Linked DNA regions of Homo sapiens: all the other regions are linked to region 5. Evidence: promoter capture Hi-C in 16 types of primary human blood cells and fetal thymus (Javierre and others, 2016). All regions are on one chromosome and are shown on one strand. Each heading gives the region's core, a stretch centred on a gene start or on the middle of the fragment in contact. The rest is flanking DNA. Distances are from core to core; before and after follow the strand shown. Region 1 has its middle 300 kb from the start of LINC03000. Region 2 has its middle 16 kb from the start of MAT2B. Region 3 overlaps RPL26L1 (ribosomal protein L26 like 1). Region 4 has its middle 280 kb from the start of LINC03000. Region 5 holds the start of RARS1 (arginyl-tRNA synthetase 1).

Evidence for each region. The method cuts DNA at HindIII sites, captures the fragments that hold promoters and counts their contacts. A CHiCAGO score of 5 or more calls a contact.
Region 1: a contact is called between a fragment that was not itself captured here and the fragment with the promoter of RARS1 in region 5, in 1 of 17 cell types (total B cells). The highest score is 5.5, in total B cells.
Region 2: a contact is called between a fragment that was not itself captured here and the fragment with the promoter of RARS1 in region 5, in 3 of 17 cell types (naive CD8 T cells, total B cells and total CD8 T cells). The highest score is 11.2, in naive CD8 T cells.
Region 3: a contact is called between a fragment that was not itself captured here and the fragment with the promoter of RARS1 in region 5, in 1 of 17 cell types (naive CD8 T cells). The highest score is 5.3, in naive CD8 T cells.
Region 4: a contact is called between a fragment that was not itself captured here and the fragment with the promoter of RARS1 in region 5, in 2 of 17 cell types (total B cells and naive B cells). The highest score is 9.8, in total B cells.

The regions. Positions count from the first base shown.
Region 1 is chr5:163,989,765-163,994,252 of GRCh38, forward strand. No RefSeq gene overlaps it. Among named protein-coding and RNA genes, the nearest start is that of LINC03000, 300 kb to the right of the region's middle. The HindIII fragment of the contact is 2,066 bases long and covers 508-2,573 here.
Region 2 is chr5:163,519,447-163,523,738 of GRCh38, forward strand. No RefSeq gene overlaps it. Among named protein-coding and RNA genes, the nearest start is that of MAT2B, 16 kb to the left of the region's middle. The HindIII fragment of the contact is 9,934 bases long and covers 1-4,292 here.
Region 3 is chr5:172,964,216-172,968,685 of GRCh38, forward strand. It overlaps RPL26L1 (ribosomal protein L26 like 1), which reads left to right. Exons shown (of 4, transcript NM_016093.4): 3 at 4,244-4,384. Among named protein-coding and RNA genes, the nearest start is that of RPL26L1, 7.0 kb to the left of the region's middle. The HindIII fragment of the contact is 9,586 bases long and covers 1-4,470 here.
Region 4 is chr5:164,009,753-164,013,934 of GRCh38, forward strand. No RefSeq gene overlaps it. Among named protein-coding and RNA genes, the nearest start is that of LINC03000, 280 kb to the right of the region's middle. The HindIII fragment of the contact is 1,625 bases long and covers 1,352-2,976 here.
Region 5 is chr5:168,484,656-168,488,712 of GRCh38, forward strand. RARS1 (arginyl-tRNA synthetase 1) reads left to right here and starts at 1,816. Exons shown (of 15, transcript NM_002887.4): 1 at 1,816-1,888; 2 at 3,947-4,057. The coding sequence starts at 1,844. The HindIII fragment of the contact is 3,317 bases long and covers 1-3,091 here.

The sequences.
Region 1 (4,488 bases), core at 291-2,790, 4.5 Mb before region 5:
AGTTGTTGGAATTATCTTTCTGGTTATTATGCATCAAAGAATAGCTACTACCTTGTACATTGTCTGAAAGAAATGTTGCACATATGGAAGAGAACATATTCTATGTATAATTTTAGAGAACATCTTGCACAATATTCTTTCTTGTAATCTTATTTCCAACCTAGGGTAATCATGATCATCATCATCATTATCATCGTCATCATCATCATGAAAAACTAATAAGATTCATTATTGTTATTGCTTGCTATTATTAGTTTCGTTGCCATTTCCAAGGGTAATAGTTGAAGTATATATTAGAGCAATAGTTCTCTCATTCATTCATTGGCTCTTGGCTTTGCCAATCTCATTCTGAAGATAAGAAATCAATCAGTGCCTGAATATGTCTCTTTTTTTGTACTTGTTATTTTGCTTATAGGTGTTTAGTGTGACTCTTTATGAAACTAGAATATCGAGAGGCAAAAATCTTTTAAAATTTAATTTAATGAAAATTAGACTGTAAAACATACAAGCTTAGAATTGGCTCAAGTTTATTTTATAATAATTGAATAGTCACAGTTAGAGGCACCTGTGACCTGAAAATGCTGGTTGAATGGTATTTTCGTATTTACAGAGCAGATACCATAGCTAAAGTGTATTTTACCAGCATTATCAAATATTGGATTCAAAGTCTCTTTTAATACATTTCTGATAAAAATATATGCAGATACATTGATGGATAATCTGTTAGGCGAAATCAACCCTAAAATGGTACCAATTTCCACATTTGGAAATTCATTTAAACTTTGTTTTGTTTTGATCTTGTAATTTAATGAAAAGATCACATTGCACCTATTCTTTGCTCTTTAAGAATGTCAAAATTTAAATCTATTCCATGGCTCAGAATGTTTCTCTATATGCTATTAATATATAAAATCGAGGTTCTGGGTTGAGTTCAAGATGGTGTGATTAAATAAATATTTGTGATTAAAAATTTTTTTCTTTTAAACATGAGCTGCTTCATCAAGTCTTACTTTATATGAATTCATTCCTTTCTCTGTCATAATTTTTTTCTCCCTATCCTTTCCCTTTGAAATTTGAACCTATTTTGTTACAATCACTTTTTTCATAATAAGTTTTTATTACCACTATGCACTCAACTCTCTTGTTCTACTAGAGAGTGCATGGCTTTTGTTTATTGTTGTTATTTTTCTTCATTATTTTTAGTTTTATTTTTTTCATGTTTATAGGTGACTTGCTTTGGTAATTTTATTTTGATATTTCACAGACTGCTTTATCTGTTAGCAATACCACATATGAAATATAGATTTCCTTCAAAGATATAATACATATAAAAGCTAATTGTGACTTCAAATACTAATTACCTATACTAAACTATGGTTTCTTTAGAGATATTCAGTAATATATCTTTCTCACTTTTTGTTGAAATATAAATTAGAAAATATACTCACTTCTTATTTTCCTCACATTCATATTTTATTCTGTGCTTTTTCTCACAATTAGAAAATTAAAACAACAAAGAAAGTTGAAGGAGGGGAAGAAGAGAACACTTAATTGTAAGAGAAAGAATTAGAATATTGACTATTTGAATGGCCAAGCATGTTTCACATATAATACAAAGATAGGAAATGATGAAAAATGAGATGTGGAAGAGAGTAGTAAAAAATCTCTATGATTTTGATGAAAACACAAAGAGGAGTAAAACGTACATTACTCTTCTTCGATCCTTTGTGACCGTGCACAGGCTTTGGCACAGAGATGTAGTCACTGATTATAATTAGTTGAAGACTTTATTCCCAACTTCCCATCTTTCAAATGCAAATTAGTGTTTCTATGACAAAAATAAAAGTCCTTGACACCCTCTTGAAGAAGGACTCCAGTAAAATGAATAATCAGTTGAGATGAACAGCCTACAGTTATCAAGAAAGGATTCACAGATCCTGCTTTTCCAATAAAACAGAAGGAACTGTTGGAATATAATACTTGCTTCAAAGAACCACTTTATTATGAACAGGTAAAATAATAATATCCAATCAAGGTCTAGTGAAATGAATTGCCTGTGTGAGGATGGACTTGGCTGCCCAGCTGCATTTGATTATGCATAACTTTACCTTCACACCAAGCATTCATGTTTTTATATTTAGAGGTATATTCCCCAAAAAGTAACTCTTAAAATATCATATTATCAGAAGAAGTGCTTCCATCATTTCTTTCTAACAGCAGCATATGTTGTTTAAGAAAAAAAAAAAAGAAAGAAGAAGACAAAAAGACAAAAACCTTCATTTAATTGTTTTTCTAGGCAGGTAATTATCTTCTCAGTCCTGTCTAACTTATGTTAGATGCTAATTTGATTGAAATATTTGTGAGATTCTTCCCCCCTTCCCCCACAATTTTTCTCTTTTTATTACATCGTGGCAGGTTAAATTCCTATAATTTATATTTGTTTACTTTTTCCTCATATATGTGAAGATCTTTTTTCACAAATGTTTCAAGTAAGGATGGGGTAACTTCAAATGTTAAGATCTCTTCCTGGTAGGATAAACAGGCATTCTTGGGATGACTGACAAGACTTCTTAAGCTTATTCGAAATGGACTGAAAGCAGATAAAATAATGTAATATCTGAACAGATTTTACTCCTTTAAATGCAAACTACTTTTTTACTGTGTCAGAAATAGTTCCTTTAGGTATTTGTGCACATCTGGCTTTTATGAAGGACAGTAATGAAAGTGAAAATATATTAATATTATCATTCCAAAGGGCCACTATTAGTTAAGTACCTATGATGTGTTAGAAACTGTGAAAAAACATCTTTTGCATTTTATGTTATTAAATTCCCATGGAGTCCCATGAAATGGTTTATATTATTCCCTTTAAAAAATAAATAAAATAAAGTACAGAGGAGTTAATGTTACTTGCCCTAGATCACAGAGACAGTTTGTAGCTGTCAGTATGATAGCAAAACCCATTCTAATTCAGCTGAAGTACAACTGTTTTTAAACAAATAACCTTATATAGCAATTACTACTGGAGGAACTTTAGCTACCTACAAAAATATACGTAAATATCTTAAAAAGGCTGAAAAATGTTTGAATGTGTGGTGATATAGTAGTAGTAGTAGGTTATCTATGGCTGTGTAACTACAGCCCTAAAACTTAGTGGTATAAACAAACATTTGCTATCCTTGCAAGTTTGTGGATCAGTAGTTCAGGTAGGGCACAGTGGGGATGACTTGTCTCTGTTCCATGACGACTTGGGCTTCAGCTCGGGTGGCTCAGTTGTGGCCATATGCTTAGTGTTTCAGCATTTGCCATTGGCTGGATTCTTAGTTATTTTCTATGCCAACTCTACTATGTCTGGAATGTCCAGGATGGCTTTTTCCCTCACCTAACGAGGCTGGAATGGCTGGAACTCATCTTTCTTCTCAGGGCCTCTCTAGATGGCTAGCCTGGACATCCTCACAGCATGACTATCTCAGAGTAACTGAACTTCTCACATGGCAACTGGCTTCTCCCAGAACAAGCATTCTAGGAGGTTCGGGCAGAAGCTGAATGTCTCTGATGAGCCATCCTTGAAAGACCTGGAATGTCATTTCTAACTGCATCCTATTGAGCAAGGGCGTGAGAGCCTTCTCTGGCATGAGTAACAATGTGGATAATGGTGAGACTTGAGTGACTTTGCAAAACTGCACTAAAAGCATCCTCCTGACAGGAGAACGGCTTCGCAGCGAGTCTGGGATGGGCTGCCTTGCTGGGGCACTGACAGAGAAAGAAGAATTAAACCAGATGCTCCCATGCAAAAGATTTGTGTAGCTGGGGAGGACACTACACAAATCCACACATTCACAACATCCTTCACAGACTGCCAGCCAGCTAGCCAGAGAAAGAAACAATAACAACTAGCTTAAAATCAGACTGTGTTCTTGCTCAGTGAGGACATGAGATACTGCCCTTGTCCCTAGCTCTGCCTCAATATTCCCTAAAGGTGAGCCAGCCCCTACATGGGGGAGGAGCAAACCATGCTTCAAGATGCTCTATCAAAACTTGGTATGTGATTTACAGATAATCATTTTTAGTTACAAGGTTAAAGCAGGCCAGGTGGGGTGGCTCATGCCTGTAATCTTAGCACTTTGGGAGGCTCAGGCAGGACGATTACTTTAGACCAGAAGTTCAAGACCAGTCTGGGCAACATACTGAGAGCCTGTCTCTACCATAAATAATAAATAAATAAAAATAAAAACACAACAAATTAGGCAGGTGTGATGGCCCGTACGTGTAGTCCCAGCTACTCAAGAGGCTCGGGTGTGTGACAGAGTAAGATCCTGTCTCAAAAAAAAGTTAAAGTGATTAAGATCATGTAATAATATACAATATATAATGAATATATATATAAAATGTATATAATGTATATATAAATACATATATTTATAGTACATATTTTTATTTGTTCAAAATATATATTATGTAAGTATAATTGATATTATATATTACATA
Region 2 (4,292 bases), core at 1,758-4,257, 5.0 Mb before region 5:
GTTGACCCTTGAACGGTGTGGGTTTGGGGTATCAACCTTGCACAGTCTAAAATCCACTATAACTCTGGACTCCCCAAATACTTAATTAGTAAAAACCTGCTGTTGACCAGAAGCCTTACTGATAAACATAGTCATTTAACATATTTCTATCTTCTGTGTATTACATACTGTATTCTTAAAGTAGCCTAGAGAAAAGAAAATATTATTAAGAAAATCTCAAGGAAGGGAAAATATATTTACTATTCATTAAGTGGAAGTAGATTATCATAAAGTTTTTTTTTTTTTTTTTTAGACAAGGTCTCGCTCTGTCGCATAGGCTGGGGTACAGTGGTGCATTCTCAGCTCACTGCAACCTCCGCCTCCTGGGTTCAAGCAATTCTCCTCCCTCAGCCACTCGAGTAGCTGGGATTACAGGCACCCGCCACCACGCCCAGCTGAGTTTTGTATTTTTAGTAGAAATGAGGTTTTGTCATGTTGGCTAGGCTGGTCTCAAACTCCTGCCCTCAAGCAGTCCACCCTCCTCGGCCTCCCAAAGTGCTGGCACTACAGGCGTGAGCCACTGCACCTGGCCTGGATCATAATCAAGTTCTTTATTCTTATCTTCATGTTGAGTAGGCTGAGGAAATTAACTGGGGAAATTTTACTGATACCTGAGTCCTACCCTGGGCTTACTGAAATAAATTTTGGGAATTGAGGCCTATTAATTTATTTTTAAATGTTTCCCAGGTGGTTCTAAGGTTGCCAGTCTGGCATTGCATTTGGCAACCACTAAATTAAAGCATTTTGTTTTATATTTTAAGTTACTACATTTCATATAGTGCATAATTAAGTTTCGGAGAGTAAAAAGTGTTGTTATTCTCTAGCCACCCGTTTTTCAACTGTGGAAGAAATGGATGTAGATCAGTTCCTTGCATATGTTTCTAGAGGCACTCTGCATATAGAAGAATATAATCAAAAAACTCACGTGTCCATACTCTCACCATCCGCCCTCACAAAGAATAACATACAATTCTCTGACCTTTTTTTCATTTGGAATTTGTTGTATAATATAAATAATGTCCTTTTTTTTTTTTTTTTTTTTTTTTGAGACGGAGTCTTGCGCTGTTGTCAGGCTGGAGTGCAGCGGTGTGATCTCGGCTCGCTGCAACCTCCGACTCCCTGGTTCAAGCGATTCTCCTGCCTCAGCCTCCCAAGTAGCTAGGATTATAGGCAGCGCCACTACACCCAGCTAATTTTTGTATGTTTAGTAGAGATGGGGTTTCACCATGTTGGCCAGGATGGTCTCGATCTCCTGACCTCGTGAGCTGCGCACCTCAGTCTCCCAAAGTGCTGGGATTACAGGTATGAGCCACCGTGCCTGGCCAAAAATGTCCTTTTTAAAAATCTTCATTTAAAAATTTCATTATTTGCCATGATAGCATAAATAATGCCTGTATTTCCCTTTCCAGATTCCCCAGTTGTCAGCATTTAGCACATTTACCCTATCATTTTCATGCACACTACATATGTATACTATTTTTATTTCCTGAACTATTGAAGAGTAGGTTGAAGATACGATGCTTCATCACCCACTTAGTATATAAACCTCAGTGTATATTTTCTAAAAATAAGGATACATGCCTATATACCCTGTAATATAATCACAATCAAGAAATTACCATTCAATTTCATAAGATCCCATTCAGATTTCATCAGTTGTTCCAGTTTCCTTTATAGGTCTATGCAGTCCAAGATTACTTGTGTGTGTCGCCATGTTGCTTTAGCTTCAATATGGAACAGTTCCTCAGTGTTTGTCTTTCATGAGCTTGATATTTTTGACATTTCTCTGTATAAGAAACCATAAGTTGACATCGATAGCTCCAGTTACAGTCTTGTTCCACAGGGTTTATTTTGGCTCTTCCCATGTTTGTGGCACCTTTCTCTGACAGCAACCGAATTCTCAGTTCTTTTTTTTGAGACAGGGTGTCACTCTCACCCAGGCTGGAGTGCAGTGGCACAATCTCAGCTCACTGCAGCCTCCACCTCCTGGGTTCAAGTGATTCTCCCACCTCAGCCTCCTGAGTAGCTGGGACTACAGGCATGTACCACCATACCCAGCTAATTTTTGTATTTTTAGTTTCACTATGTTGCCTAGGCTGCTCTCAAAGTCTTGAGCTCAAGCGATCCACTCACCTTGGTCTCCCAAAGTGCTGGGACTACAGACATGAGCCACAGTGCTCAGCTCGAATTTTTTTTTTTTTTTTTTTTTGAGATGGAGTCTCTCTCTGTCATCCAGGCTGGAGGTGCAGTGGCATGATCTCAGCTCACTGCAAGCTCTGCCTCCCAGGTTCATGCCATTCTCCTGCCTCAGCCTCCCAAGTGGCTGGGACCACAGGCACCCGCCACCACACCCAGCTAATTTTTTTTTTTTGTATTTTTAGTAGAGATGACGTTTCACCGTGTTAGCCAGGATGATCTCGATCTCCTGACCTCGTGATCAGCCCGCCTTGGCCTCCCAAAGTGCTGGGGTTACAGGCGTGAGCCACTGCGCCCAGCCTCAGCCCTCATTATTCTATTTATTCATTTGCTTCATTCATCCATAAGAATCATTCTGATGACACTAGCCAAGCCTTCCTCTGTTCTCCACTTTACATAGGCCTCCAAGCCAGCTGAGCATTCCCAGACCCATGTGACCTGGCCCTGATGCCAGTGACTGCAGGGACCACTGTACCTGGTCAAGGATCCTCCCGACCCATGGAGCACTGCACCAAGAATCACATGTGCCACTATGTACCAGCAGAGCACCAAAGAGAAGGAACTAGTTCTTTTTTTGGCTGCATTTATTCCATTGTATCAATGAGGGAAATCACAATTTGTTGGTGTATAGATGGTCCCTGACTTACAATGGTTCAGCAGATTTTTTGACTGCAATGGTGTGAAAGTAATCACATTCAATAGAAACCATACTTCAAGTACTCATACAACCATTCCGTTTTTCACTTTCAGTATAGTATTTAATAAATTACAGAAGATATTTAACACTTTGCTATAAGATAGGCTTTGTGTTAGATGTTGCCCAACTGTAGGCTAATGTAAGTGTTCTGAGCATATTTAAGGTAGGCTAGGCTAAGCTGTGATATTCAGTAGGTTTATGTGTATTAAATGCATTTTTGACTCAGGATATTTTAAATTTATGAAGGATTCATCAGGATGTAACCCCATTGTAAGTTAGGTATCTGTACTGGAATATAAGCTAATTATACCCTTTTGGCAGCCAAATCATCTCATCAACATTAAATATAGCAGTAGGCTTTTTTGTAATTTTTTTTGTGCAGTAGGTTTTAATTCAAGGGTAGGCTAGTCAAGATATTTTTTTTACTTGAAGGAAGTATTATGTATAGTGCAAAGAAACAACTCTAGATTCAAACGTGATTTTTCCACTTGCTAGTAGCAAGTTGCTTTTCCTTTCGGAGCTTGAAGTAATTTTTAGGGTTAAATGAAAAGAATACCACCTATTTCACAGGTCTGTCGTGGAAATACTTGGAACAGAGATACTAGCACATGTAGCTGTGGACTTAACAAATGCCTAAGGGTTGGGGTATGGGGGAGAAATGGTGGTCTTGTAATATTACCTTCACTTTCAGCTGTAAGATATTAGGAGTTTTCTCTCATAAATAAGATTACCAGTGGTTTTTCTTTGTGATTTTTAAGTATTTTCTAGACTTAATTTTAGTATTTTGTAAATGCATTTAAAAATATTTCAAAGAAAATTATTTTTGTAACTTGTTTTACCTAAGGACTTCTGAAAGTTCTTTTCTGTATTTTGCTACAGAAATAGCCAGAATACTTGAATTTATATACATATAAATGTATCTCTGGAAATTGAATACATTCACTTCATGTATTTACTTGCAAGTGATTTACATTGAAAGATGGCCATGAAATTTCCCAGCTGTGTCTACAGTTACTTTGCTTTCCATGGTCCCCATTTCAATTCTAATTTTTGACATATATACATGCTACATATTATTGAACAATTTCAATTTCCCCCCAGTTTGTTATAGATTTAAAAAATATTCCCTTTGAAATGAAAAATTGATATATGGCCTTTAAAATGTTTTAATGTGAGATGCTAAAAATTATTCAAGATAAATCAAACACTTTGGCATATAGGAGGGCTGGAAATAATTTTTTATTTTCCTTATACAGCGTCACCCCCAGGCTTTATGTGCTTAGAACACATAAGGTCCTTGGAAAGTTGAAAGAGGGATGATGGTTCTGGCCTTCAGAAGTGTTCGTCTGTAGTTACAATT
Region 3 (4,470 bases), core at 1,234-3,733, 4.5 Mb after region 5:
CCTTCTGCCTTGGCCTCCCAAAGTGCTGGGATTACAGGCATGAGCCACAGTGTCTGGCCTGTTGCCTTTTTTTTTTTTTTTTTTTTTGAGACAGAGTTTCACTCTTGTTGCCCAGGCTGGAGTGCAGTGGCACAATCTCGGCTCACTGCAACCTCTGCCTCCCGGGTTCAAGCCATTCTCCTCCCTCAGCCTCCCAAGTAGCTGAGATTACAGGCACACACCACCATGCCTGGCTAATTTTCATATTTTTAATAGAGACGGGGTTTTACCATGTTGGTCAGTCTGGTCTCGAACTCCTGACCTCAGGTGATCCACCCGCCTCAGCCTCCCCAAGTGCTGGGATTACAGGCGTGAGCCACCACGCCCGGCTGCCTGTTGCCATTTTTTGAATGCCTAAGAGGTATGAATTGTTTCAGCCAAAGGCCATGCTGGCTGAACACTTCTCCACCAGGAGAATAAAATAGCCCTGATTGGGTTTGTTAATATTGCCTCCTCTCACGGGATCTTCTGAATCTCACTTACCTTCCTCTTTCTCTGAGTAGGTGATGGTTCCTCCTACTTTACAGAGAAAATTGAAGTTATCAGCCAGGAACTTTCAGAAATCGTGGCTCCACACCTACACGTTTACCTGTAGTTCCACCCCTCTTATTTTCTTTCCCTTCTGTTACAATGAAAGAAATATCCCAGGCCTGGTGCAGTGGCTCACGCCTGTAATCTCAACACTCTGAGAGGCCAAGACAGGTGGATCGCTTGAGGCCAGGAGTTCGAGACCAGCCTGGCCAACATGGCGAAATTCCGTCTGCACTAAAAATATAAAGATTAGCTGGGCGTGATGGCACATGCCTGTAATCCCAGCTACAAGGGAGGCTGAGGCAATGAGATATCACTTGAACCCAGAAGGCGGAGGTTGTGGTGAGCCAAGATCACGCCACTGCACTCCAGCATGGGTAACACAGCAAGTCTCTGTCTCAAAAAAAAAAGAAAGAAATATCCCTGTTTCTGCCTAAGCCTAATCCATCTGCCACTGGGTGCTGCTCCATTCTTCTCTTGGAGCTTTTTTGGTCCCTTATCTTCTTTCTCTGTAGTTTCTTTTACCGTCTTCCTCCATACTTGTTCCTTCCATCAGCATTTAAACACAATCATGTTTTCCCTTCTTTAAAAATAAAAAATAAAGGAAAGTTCCCTTAGCTTTCCATCCCCCTCAAACATCTATCCCCTTCTCATCTTCAGAGCCAAGCTCCTTTGGACTGTCTTTTCTCACCTTCACCTTCTCACCTGGTACACTCATCACTTTACTGTTAATGGCCTCCATCCCAGCACTCAGTGAAGGCATTCCAGCCACAGCCACTGTTGATGACCTTGTTGTCAGATCTGTTAAATACCTTATCCTCTGTGTTCTTGACAGTCCCACAGAATTTGACATTCTCTTGGCTGCTGTAACACCACACTTGCATGATTTCCCATTCGCTCTGGCCACATTAATCTCTCACAAGCTCTTCCAAAATGCTGGCTTTTCTCACATGTGTACATTCTGCCCTTTTCTCATACCATCACTCCTTGAGCAACATGAAGCTCCTAATTGCCTCTCTGTGGATGACTCCCACGTCTCTATTGCTGGCCCAGTTGGCATTCCAGCTGTGTCTGAATTCTCTGTTAGAATGTCCCCAGATGCTTCAAATTTAGCATGTTCCAAACTAAACTATTTCCTCCTAAAATACGGGGCTTCCCCTATGATCTCTGCATCTGGCAATGGCATTGCCATCCACCTGGTTGCCCAAGCCAGACTCTGAGTATCATCCTTCCCTCTTCATCCTCACCTCTCCAGTCTAGTCGACCAGCCGACTTAGTCTTATCCTGTCTCCTGTCTTCCTCTTCACTATGTCCAGAGGTTGTCCACTTCTCTTTTTAAAAATTTTTTAAATTAATTTTTTATTTTATTTTATTTTGAGACAGGATCTCACTCTGTCACCCAGGCTGGAGTACAGTGGTGCAAAAACAGGTTGCTGCAGACTCAACCTCCTGGGTTCAAGTGATCCTCCCACCTCAGCCTCCCGAGTAGCTGGGATCATAGGCGCATGCCACCATGTCTGGCTAACTATTTTTTTTTTTTTTTTTTTTTTTTTTTTTGTAGAGACGGGGTCTTGCTATGTTGCCTCGGCTGGTCTCCAACTCCTGGACTCAAGCAGTCCACCTGCCTGAGCTTCCTAAAGTACCAGGATTACAGCTGTGAGCCACCATGCCCGGCCTAAGATCTTTCTTCAGTCTTGGCCAGGTGCAGTGGCTCACACATGTAATCCCAGCACTTTGGAAGGCCAAGGTGGGTGGATCTCTTGAGCTCAGGTGTTTGAGACCAGCCTGGGCAGCATAGTGAAACCCTGTCTCTTAAAAAAAGTGTGTATGTGTGTATTTCTTCAGTCTTGATGGTATTAACAAGACTTCTTCCAGGTGTGTCCTGAGAGTCTCTGGTCATGTAGTCTGTGGTAGATTTTTCACTGAGATATGATTGTCCTCTTCAACCTAAAAATCGCCTTGGAAAATAAGCCAAACAAGCTATACGTAGACATTTTAGGAGTATTGGGGTTCTCTAGTTCTTTATATGTGGTATCTCCTCTATGCTTATTAATCAGAGTCACATCGTACCTGGTGGTTTTTTTTTTTTGAGGCGGTGTCTCGCTCTGTCGCCAGCCTGGAGTGCAGTGGCACCATCTCAGCTCACTGCAACCTCCGCCTTCCAGGTTCAAGTGATTCTCCTGCCTCAGCCCCCCGAGTAGCTGGGTCTACAGGCGCCCACCACCACGCCCAGCTAATTTTTGTATTTTTAGTAGAGACAGGGTTTCACCATGTTGGCCTGGATGGTCTCGATCTCTTGACCTCATGATCCACCGGCTTTGGCCTCCCAAAGTGCTGGGATTACAGGTGTGAACCACCGTGCCCGGCCCCCATGCATGGTGTTTAATAAGCTCTTGTGGCTGGGCATGGTGGCTCACACCTGTAATCCCAGCACTTTGGGAGGCCGAGGCAGGCAGATCACTTGAGGTCAGGAGTTCGAGACCAGCCTGGCCAATATGGCGAAACCTGGTCTCTACTAAAAATACAAAAATTAGCCAGGCCTGCTGGTGCGTGCCTATAATCCCAGCTACTTGGGAGGCTGAGGCAGGAGAATCACTTGAACCTGGGAGGTGGAGGTTGCAGTGAGCCAAGATCATGCCAGTGCCCTCCAGCCTGGGGGAACAGAGCGAGACTCCGTGTCAAAAATAAATAAATAAATAAATAAGCTCTTGCTTTCAAGGAAACCCTAATCTAGTTGGTTTTTGAATAGAGTAGATTTTTAGTACAGTAAAACAGTCTGTGAGATTTAAAATTTTTTTTCTGACTTTAAAATATTTGTATTAAATGTAGAAATGTTGAAATTTAGAAGAATATAAATCTAAAAATCAGTCATCTGTAATCCTGCTTCCTGCCTAATGGCAGCTGTTACCAATATTTATATATATATTTTATCCCACTGTGTCATGCTATATATATGAAATGTGTGTGTATATATACATATATACACATATATACGTATGTATACACATATATGTATATATGACATATAAGTACATATATGTATGTATGACATATATGTATGTTACATATAAGTACATATGTGTATGTATATGATACGTGTATGTATATATGACATATAAATACATATACGCACATATGTAATATATATTATATATATACACACACACATACACTCATATAGTTTGAGTATCTCAAATTCAGAATGCTCCAAAATCTGAGACTTTGTCAACGTGATGGTCAAAGGAAGTGTTCTTTGGAGCTTTTGGGATTTCAGATTTTCAGATTTGGGGTGCTTAGCTAGTAATGCAGATATTCCAAAATCCCAAAAACCCTAAATCCAAAACACTTCTGGTCTCAAGCATTTCGAATAAGGGATACTTGACATATATATGTATATATATATAGTTCAGAGTATATTCTATATGTAGTTTTGTATTCTCCTTTTTCCTCTAAAGCTCATATCGCACATTTCTGTGGGATCCAGGTAAAAAATCTCCACCCAACCATAGCACAACACAGATTTATATCAGAAAAGTAGCTAATTTTTGACTGCCAGGATTAAGCTGCTTTTGACAAAGTTATATGTTTAGCCCATGTGTTCCTGATGGTTAGCTTCCTCTTTATGATCATGCACTACAAATGGAGGGGGATTCTCTTTTGTATTTTCTCTTAGGTAGTTCGAGGACACTACAAAGGTCAGCAAATTGGCAAGGTAGTCCAGGTGTACAGAAAGAAATATGTCATCTACATCGAGCGGGTGCAGCGTGAGAAGGCCAACGGCACAACTGTCCACGTGGGCATTCACCCAAGCAAGGTATGGTCAAGGACTGAGTGGCAGTAGCAGCCATGGAGTGTGTCAATACTGTTCAAAGTTATTGGTGTTTTGGTACTCCCTGCACA
Region 4 (4,182 bases), core at 914-3,413, 4.5 Mb before region 5:
AAGTGTCAGTAAAACATGAGGTTGTGTGGAATCTTAAGCAGAGCAGAGGACCGGAAGTAATCCCCTTTATGTTTGTTCGTTTCAGCCTCAAATAACCCTCAGTCTCTCAACACTGCCCCTAGGATCTCATTTTACAAAGCATGGTTTCGAAGAAAACAATTTGAAGATTTTTTTAGACGCTAGAAAATAAAGTTTTATTTCTGAACGCATCTGTGGTTTGTAACACTGGTGATCCAAACTTCTTCCTAAGCAATTTTTTGCATCTGTTAACTGACCTGAATGTCTGTTATGAGGATTAATTTAGGAAAACCCATTTCAAATTATTGTTCTAGAGCAGGGGTCAGCAAACATTTTCTGTAAAGGGCCAGACAGTAGATAATTTGGACTTTGAGGACCCCTTGGGGATCCTCTCTGTCACAATTAGTCAACCTAGCCATTATAATGCAAAAGGAGCCATAGACAATATGGTGGAAACATAGATATGTGGCTGGTGGATGTTTTTCCATCGTCTTTAGTTTGCTGACCCTTTCTAGAGCAGTGATTCTCAGTTGATGTTTGTGTGTGGCGAAGAAGGCACTTTGAGAATTTCATTGAGAAAAAAGGTCAAAAGACTTTACCACTATATTACAATCTAGGCAACTCACAAAATTACACTTGTACCCCATAAGTTTATACAAATGAAAAATAAATAAATCAAACAATAAAAACACTGAGAAAATTGAATTTAAAAAATAAATAGAATCTCTACTGGAAATTTTCATCATTTTTCCTTTTGAGAGTTATCTCCTTTTATTTTTTGGACCCAAATAATACTTTGGCGGGGTCTGTAGTTCAATAAAAATTGCACAAATAATATATGAAGGCCAGTAACTATTTTTACTATTACTACATCATTATATTATATATTAAGATATATAATATATAATAATATTCAACAGAAATATAATTTGAGGCACATATGTAAGTTCGAATTTTTCTAGCAGCTGCATTAAAAAGTTTTTTAAGGTAAATTTTTATATTGTATTTAGCACAATATATCAGAAATATTACCTTTTTACCACATAGTCAATATTAAAAATTATTAATGAGATTTTTACACTCTATGTTTTGTAGCAAACCTTTGAAAGCTGGTGTGCATATTATACTTACAGTATATTTCAACTTGGACTAGTCACATTTCTCATGCTTAGTAGCCACATGTGGCTGGTGACTACCATATTAAATGGCATAGGAAAAAATCAAATAATATGTTGCTTATGCTCAGTGGATTGCATTCTGAGGACAAGTGAAGTAGGACATAGGACAGCTATCTCTTGCCCTCTAGAACACTGAACTTGGCAGCAGCCTCAGAAGCTTCGTAACACACATTTGGGGCAGTTGCCGCCAATCAAGAGAGCTGGCATGTAAGCTGAAACCTCTCTGCCAGTCAATTTAGGGAGTATAACATGAATTCTGCCACATAATTGATCATTTGAAATCTCAGGACTCATTTCGAACAGTTATTTTCTTTTATTTGCCAAACACAGGTCAAAAAGTCCAAAGCCAGGAGAGACCAGAGAGATAGAAATGAGAGAATCCAGATGGGTTGAGCACAGTAGAAAATGATGGGACCATTGGTGGCAAATGGCAAATATAGGACCCTCTTCCAAGTAAACACATTCCAAAGTTAAGCACTGTCATCTAACAAGACATATCTGCAAGACCACCACTGGCTGTACGGACCTATTAGTTTATAGTCTCTGGCCACTTACATTAAGCCTAAGGATGTGTCAGTATTCCAAAATAATTATCATTATTGGATTGCAAATCTTCCTTTCTCCTTTCATCTCCTGTTACTCCAGTTCCATTGCTGACTTGAGACATTCCCTCTGAATATTCTGTCTTCTCTCACCATACACCATGCTCATTAATCCTCATAATGATATTATGGGTTTGTGCTATTGGTGTTCCATTTAACAGGCTGGGGAATTGAAGCTCATAGATGTTAAGTAATTTACACAAATTCACATGGATCATTTCTGGCTGTACTAGGATTCATTCACAGGTCCGCTGATCTAAAATTTTGCCCATGTACGCTTCACATCTTCTTGCCTCTCATTGAACTACTTCATACAATCTCATCACTGTAAGAATAAATTACAATTATTTAAAAAATACTAAAATAACCCATGAAACTTCTTATAATTGAACTTCCTACCTACTGACTCAATGAAGAAACCTGAAGTTAATTGAATATTCTTCTCAGATTCACTAGCACTGTATTTTTGGCTTTTGCATAAAATATTTGCTGTGTGCCTCTGTTCAGCCTGCTAGTTTCTCTTTAAAGGCCAGAGTCTTTTTTCAATCAATCATATTTATCAGCAAAACACAGTTCATCTCACCAAAATAACCAGAGGACAAAGGTTGAGTTAAAAAGTTCTGGGCAAAAGCCCTTTGACCATAAATTAACAGCAGATTGGAAATTTGATTTTTTTCAAAAGTCATTAATCATAGCAATCCCTAGTAAACAGTAATAAATATTTGTGTGTAACTTCTTTATACATTAAAAATTATCAGATCAACCTAGCACCAACTCATTCTGTTTGCTGGAATTTTTTTAAAGAATATCAACGTGTTTTTTTTTTTTAAATATATTCTGTGAACATTTTGATTGATTGGAAGTTAAAAGGAAGAGCAGGCTTTTTGCTTTCCTTGGGCTTAAGTCCTGTGAGGATGTCTCCAGAACTTCAAATAAGTCCCTCCAAGGGAGAGAAAAACCCAGCACTTAGCAACATGCAGCCTTAGTGCCTGGGGACTCCCTGTCACCTCACGTTGGAAAAGTGGCTGATGAACTATGCAGATCACGAAGATTGGGTAATAAAATCCCACCACCATCAGACCAGGAAAATCTATTACTCACCTCTTCTATTAATAGAGTTAGAACTTCGATTTCACAGTGCAAAAAGCTCAGATTTATTTTGCTTACTTGAATCTCAAAGCTTGAGTGGTCTCCGATTTGGGAAATGTAAATTCTGCTTCCCTTTAAACTAAATAATACTTCTATTTATAACACTTGTCATAGCCTCTACACTCTTTTTTTGCATATAAAATGCTGCAATATATATACCTACTCTAATGTTTCTAGTAGGGGACGTTTAGCACAGTGATTTATTAGAAAATAGGAAAGAAAGAACCACGCTCACCTCTGGGGCAAGGAGGTGGGTGGGGAAACTTGCCCATTCTACCCCTTTATATATAAGAAGTGAAAAATCTGTCCTGTTCATTTGTAAATTCACTTGGAACCTTTCTTCTTGTTGAGCTGTTTGATAACAGAAACGTGCTGAGATTTTTGTTTCAAGACAATTCCCATTTCTCAGAACTCCCCCTACTTTTTCTGTAACTATCATTCAGGAAAACGGGAATAGCAGCTTAAACAGTTAATAGTCAATTCCAGCTCCCATTTTTATGAGTGAAAGACAGTTTCTCTCTTAAGATGGTAACAGTTAAATGCAAAACTAATCTAACCAGCCATTGGGTGGCACTGTTGCTCCACTGAATTCTTGGTTAAAGAGCATTTCTCTTATACTAAAAAAGGGAGGCGAAGCGAAACCCTGATTGTGCCTTAAGGAAAGTAGCATTGTTTAAATGGGAAAACTGACTTTCCCCTGTTTCTTTGATTCTTTCTATCTAGTAAACATTCTTTGACCCAGAAATGACAACTACTTGTCATTGTCCGTATTCGAATGGAAATATTAATTGTTTGATGGGTGCTACCTGGAGTCTTGTGTTGAGAAGGATTCTGAGGCCGCATCCAAGACAATGGAGAGAATGTTATGGATTGATTAGCAATATTGGCTGTGGGTATGGAATATTGGAGTGGTGACATGCTTGTCATTCTTGCTTGAGAGTACATTTTGAACTCCTTGTGCTGATGGCCTTGGTATAAATTCTGCACTTTCACTGGGGCTAGAATGGAGAATATGTGGTTAGAACAGAAAGAAAAATGTTAGAGTAAGTTAAGCGATATGTTAGACTCAGGATATTAAAGCATATTGTTCATCCCTGATAATGTGAACATGACCTGAATTATAAGTGCCCTCTTTTCTTACCTACTTGATCTAAGCCAGAGTTTTAAGATTATGAGAAAATGATGTCATTACCACAAGAAGGATAATCATTTTGGATTGGCTGTCCACAGAAGGT
Region 5 (4,057 bases), core at 566-3,065:
TTTTTTTTTTTTTTTTGAGACAGAGTCTCACTCCGTTGCCCAGGCTGGAGTGCAGTGGCCAGATCATGGCTCACTGCAACCTCAAACTCTTGGGTTTAAACAATCCTGCCTCCTAAGTCTCCTATATAGCTGGGACTACAGGTGCACACCACCATGCCTGGCTAATGTTTTGTATTTTTGGTAGAGACGATGTTTCACCATTTTTTCCAGGCTGGTCTTGGACTCCTGGGCTCAAGAAATCTGCCTGCCTCAGCCTCCCAAAGTGCTAGGATTACAGACATGAGCCACTGTGCCTAGCTCGATGTCAACTTTTAAAAGTATACACTGGGATATGAATTTTTAAAATACTTTTATGAGGCACGGAAGCGAAAACGTTTAGAGTGCTACTTTCTAAGTTCTGGAGTCATAGAGAAGAGTGAACAAGATAATTAAGGTCCCTGCCCTCTTAGAACATATATCCCAGGTTTGCTGTTTATAATTTTAACTCAATATATATACAATGAAATATTATTCAGCCTTATAAAAGAAAACCCTGTTATGGGTGACAACATAGATGAACCTGGAGAACATTATGTTGGTGCAATAAGCCGGGCACAGAAAGACAAATACTACATTAGCCCATGTATATGTGTAATCTAAAAAATTCAGATTCATAGAAGCAGAGCATAGAATGGTGGTTGTCAGGGCTTCAGAGGTAGGAAAGATGGGAGATGTTGCTCAAAGTTACAAAGTTTCAGTTAGGCGGGATGAATAGATTCTAGAGATGTAATGTATATTGTATACTTGCAGTTTTCGTTTTCGTTTCGTTTTGTTTGTTTTTAAATAGAGAGAGAAAAGGTCTCACTCTGTCATCCAGGCAGAGTACAGTGGCATGATCATGGCTCACCGCAGCCTCAAATTCTTGGGCTCAAGTGATCCTCCCACCTCAGCCTCCTATATACCAGGGACTACAGGCACATGCCACCATGCCCGGCTATTTTTCCATTTTTTTGTAGAGACGAGGTCTTAGCTGTTTCCCAGGATGAGAATAGATCTTAAATGTTCACAGCACACACGCGCGCGCGCGCGCGCGCACACACACACACACACACACATGCAAATGATAACTGTATGAGATGAAGGTTATGTTAATTATTTTGGTTGTGGTAATCATTTCAGAATGTATACATATATCAAAACATTACGTTGTACATCGTTATGATATACAATCTTTGTCAATTATACCTCAATAAAACTGGAAAAATAAATAAGATTTTAACTCAAATGTCACTTGCTTAGAGATGTCTTCTCTCACCCAAGTCACTCTATCACATTGCCTTCCTAGCAATTAAAACTACCTGAGATTATTGCCTTTTTTGGTCTATTTTCTCTCTCCATTCTAAAATGTGTCTGCCGTGAGAGGGGAGATCGTGTCTGTTTTGTTTTCTTTGTGCCCCCAGAGCCTAGAATACTGTCTGGCATTTTAAAGTACACAATAAATGTTTGTTGAATAAATGAATGGATTTGTTAGTTTTGTGCCCATTTCACAAAGGGGCAAAGTGAGGCCTTTGAGAGCCAGAAGCTCTAGGTCAGTGACTGTCCTAGTCTATCCAAGCACAGAGCAGCTCTGGTTAGTGTCTGCTCAATTCCTCTCCCCTCGCCCAAACGTCCCTGAGTTGCGGCCTCGCTCCTGACCGAAATCCCCGCGGGTTCTCCTCGCAGTGTCTACTGGATCCCGCCAGGAGGCAGCAGAGGCGCCAGCACCCAGTCCGACGGGACAGCGGACCGGAGGGGGTTTCCGCTTCCGGGAGAGGCTGACCGTTTCCGCTTCCGTCCACTTGGCGAGTGAGACGCTGATGGGAGGATGGACGTACTGGTGTCTGAGTGCTCCGCGCGGCTGCTGCAGCAGGTTTGGACGCAGGAGACCGGCGGGAAGGCCTGAAAGAGATGGAGCAGGCTCTGACTCCTGCCCAAGCGGCTTCGGGGGCGGGACAGCTAGGCGAGGACCATCCTGGTCCTCTCAGAGTGGAGCGGCACGGTCCCTGTGGGAACAGGAAGGGTTGAGAGAGGAAGCACCCATCATTTCAAAGCCCGTGTGACTGTGATTTTCAGCGGAATGGAGGGTCCCCACCCTCTCCCAGGCCTCCCCCAAACCAGCGTCTTCGGTGGGCTGGAGCCTGGCATGTTCAGAACAGTTCTCTCCCTACAATCCACCTCCTCTTCTGCATACACACGCGATTTAGGGGATGCGGGGAGATAGACAAGGGGGGAATACATTCAGAGCTCTGGGTCTTGGTTTGCAGCTCAGCCGCAGTTCTTCCCGGGTTACTGAGCGAGAGGATTCCTAATAAGCCCATGGGGTGATTCATTATCAGACCAGCGGAGCTTGCTCTGTGCCCTCAGCATTCGTCGGGAAGGAGCAGCCACACCATATAAAAGTGAAAGCGGCCGGGCGCGGTGGCTCATGCCTGTAATCCCAGCACTTTGGGAGGCCGAGGTGGGCGGATCACGATGTCAGGAGATCGAGACCATCCTGGCTAACACAGTGAAACTCCGTCTCTACTGAAAATACAAAAAAACTTAACCGGCTGTGTTGGGGGGGGTCCCTGTATTCCTAGCTACTCGGGAGGCTGAGGCAGGAGAATGGCGTGAACCCGGGAGGCGGAGCTTGCAGTGAGCAGAGAGCACACCACTGCACCACAGCCTGGGCGACAGAGTGAGACTCCGTCCCCCTACAAAAAAAAAAAGTGAAAGCGGAACAGTTCCATTACCTTTTATGCCCAGGTGGGGAGGGATGGTAGGAAGATAGTTCACAGTACTCTGTCCTGTTACGGCTGTATACTTAATCAGCAGTCACAAAGTACAAGTTAGTCAAGTAAATTGGCAAGCTCTTTACATTTCTGAGCCATTTATTTATCGGTATGTATTTATCTTTGCCTCACTTGGTTGTGATAATCATGAAGGTAATTTCTGAAAAGTGTTTTTAGCTCAGCTCCTGGAACATAATGTATGCTCATTTTTGGCAATTTGGTTTTGGCTGTAGCTATCTCCCAGTAAGTATTCTGAAATTTCAGGTGAGGAACTCCCCCTGAGTTTTGCAGTTTAAGTTGGAAGCTTTATTTCTTTCTGAATTGACATGTCTTTAGTTTTAGATGTTAAACTACAAAGCCTGGTCTGGTCTAGTCTAGGACCTAAGACACTGGAAACAGGAAGAAATGGGAAAATTGTTTAGTCCCAGAAAGGGTGAAAGGCAGACCCTTGAGCTATTTTGAATGTGACAAAGGACATTTGGGTTTTTTAAGAGTCCCAGGTCATAGGATTTGGGAATAAAAGCAGGTTGGTCAACCTGAAACTTAACTACTCTTGCTAAATCAGAGTGTTTATCGAGCCAAAGAAAAGAACTAGGGATATGAGACATGAGGCATATCCCATTATATACTTACTCCGATTCCTGTCTCCCAAAACACATGTATGTGTGGTTAATATATTCTTTTTCTTTTTCTTTTTTTTTGAAACAGAGTCTCGCTCTGTCAAGCAGACTGGAGTGCAGTGGCACGATCTCGACTCACCGCAACCTCAGCCTCTGGGATTCAGGCAATTCTCCTGCCTCAGCCTCCCAAGTAGCTAGGATTACAGGCATGCGCCACCATGCCTAGCTAATTTTTGTATTTTTAGTAGAGACAGCGTTTCGCTATGTTTGCCATGCTGGTCTTGAACTCTTGGCCTCAAGTCATCCACCTGCCTAGGCCTCCCAAAGTGCTGGGATTACAGGCGTGAGCCACCATGCCTGGCCAATATTTTCTTATTAAGGATAATATGCTAACGTCAGCAAAAATCTCAGAGGAGAAAGAAACACAGCTCATCAAAGGGAACATTAATGATTCCCATGGTCTATGCCACGCCTTGGTAGAGAGGGGAAATGTGGAAGTAAGTTTATGGACTGAAAAAAGTGCTTTTTTTCCCACAGGAAGAAGAGATTAAATCTCTGACTGCTGAAATTGACCGGTTGAAAAACTGTGGCTGTTTAGGAGCTTCTCCAAATTTGGAGCAGTTACAAGAAGAAAATTTAAAATTAAAG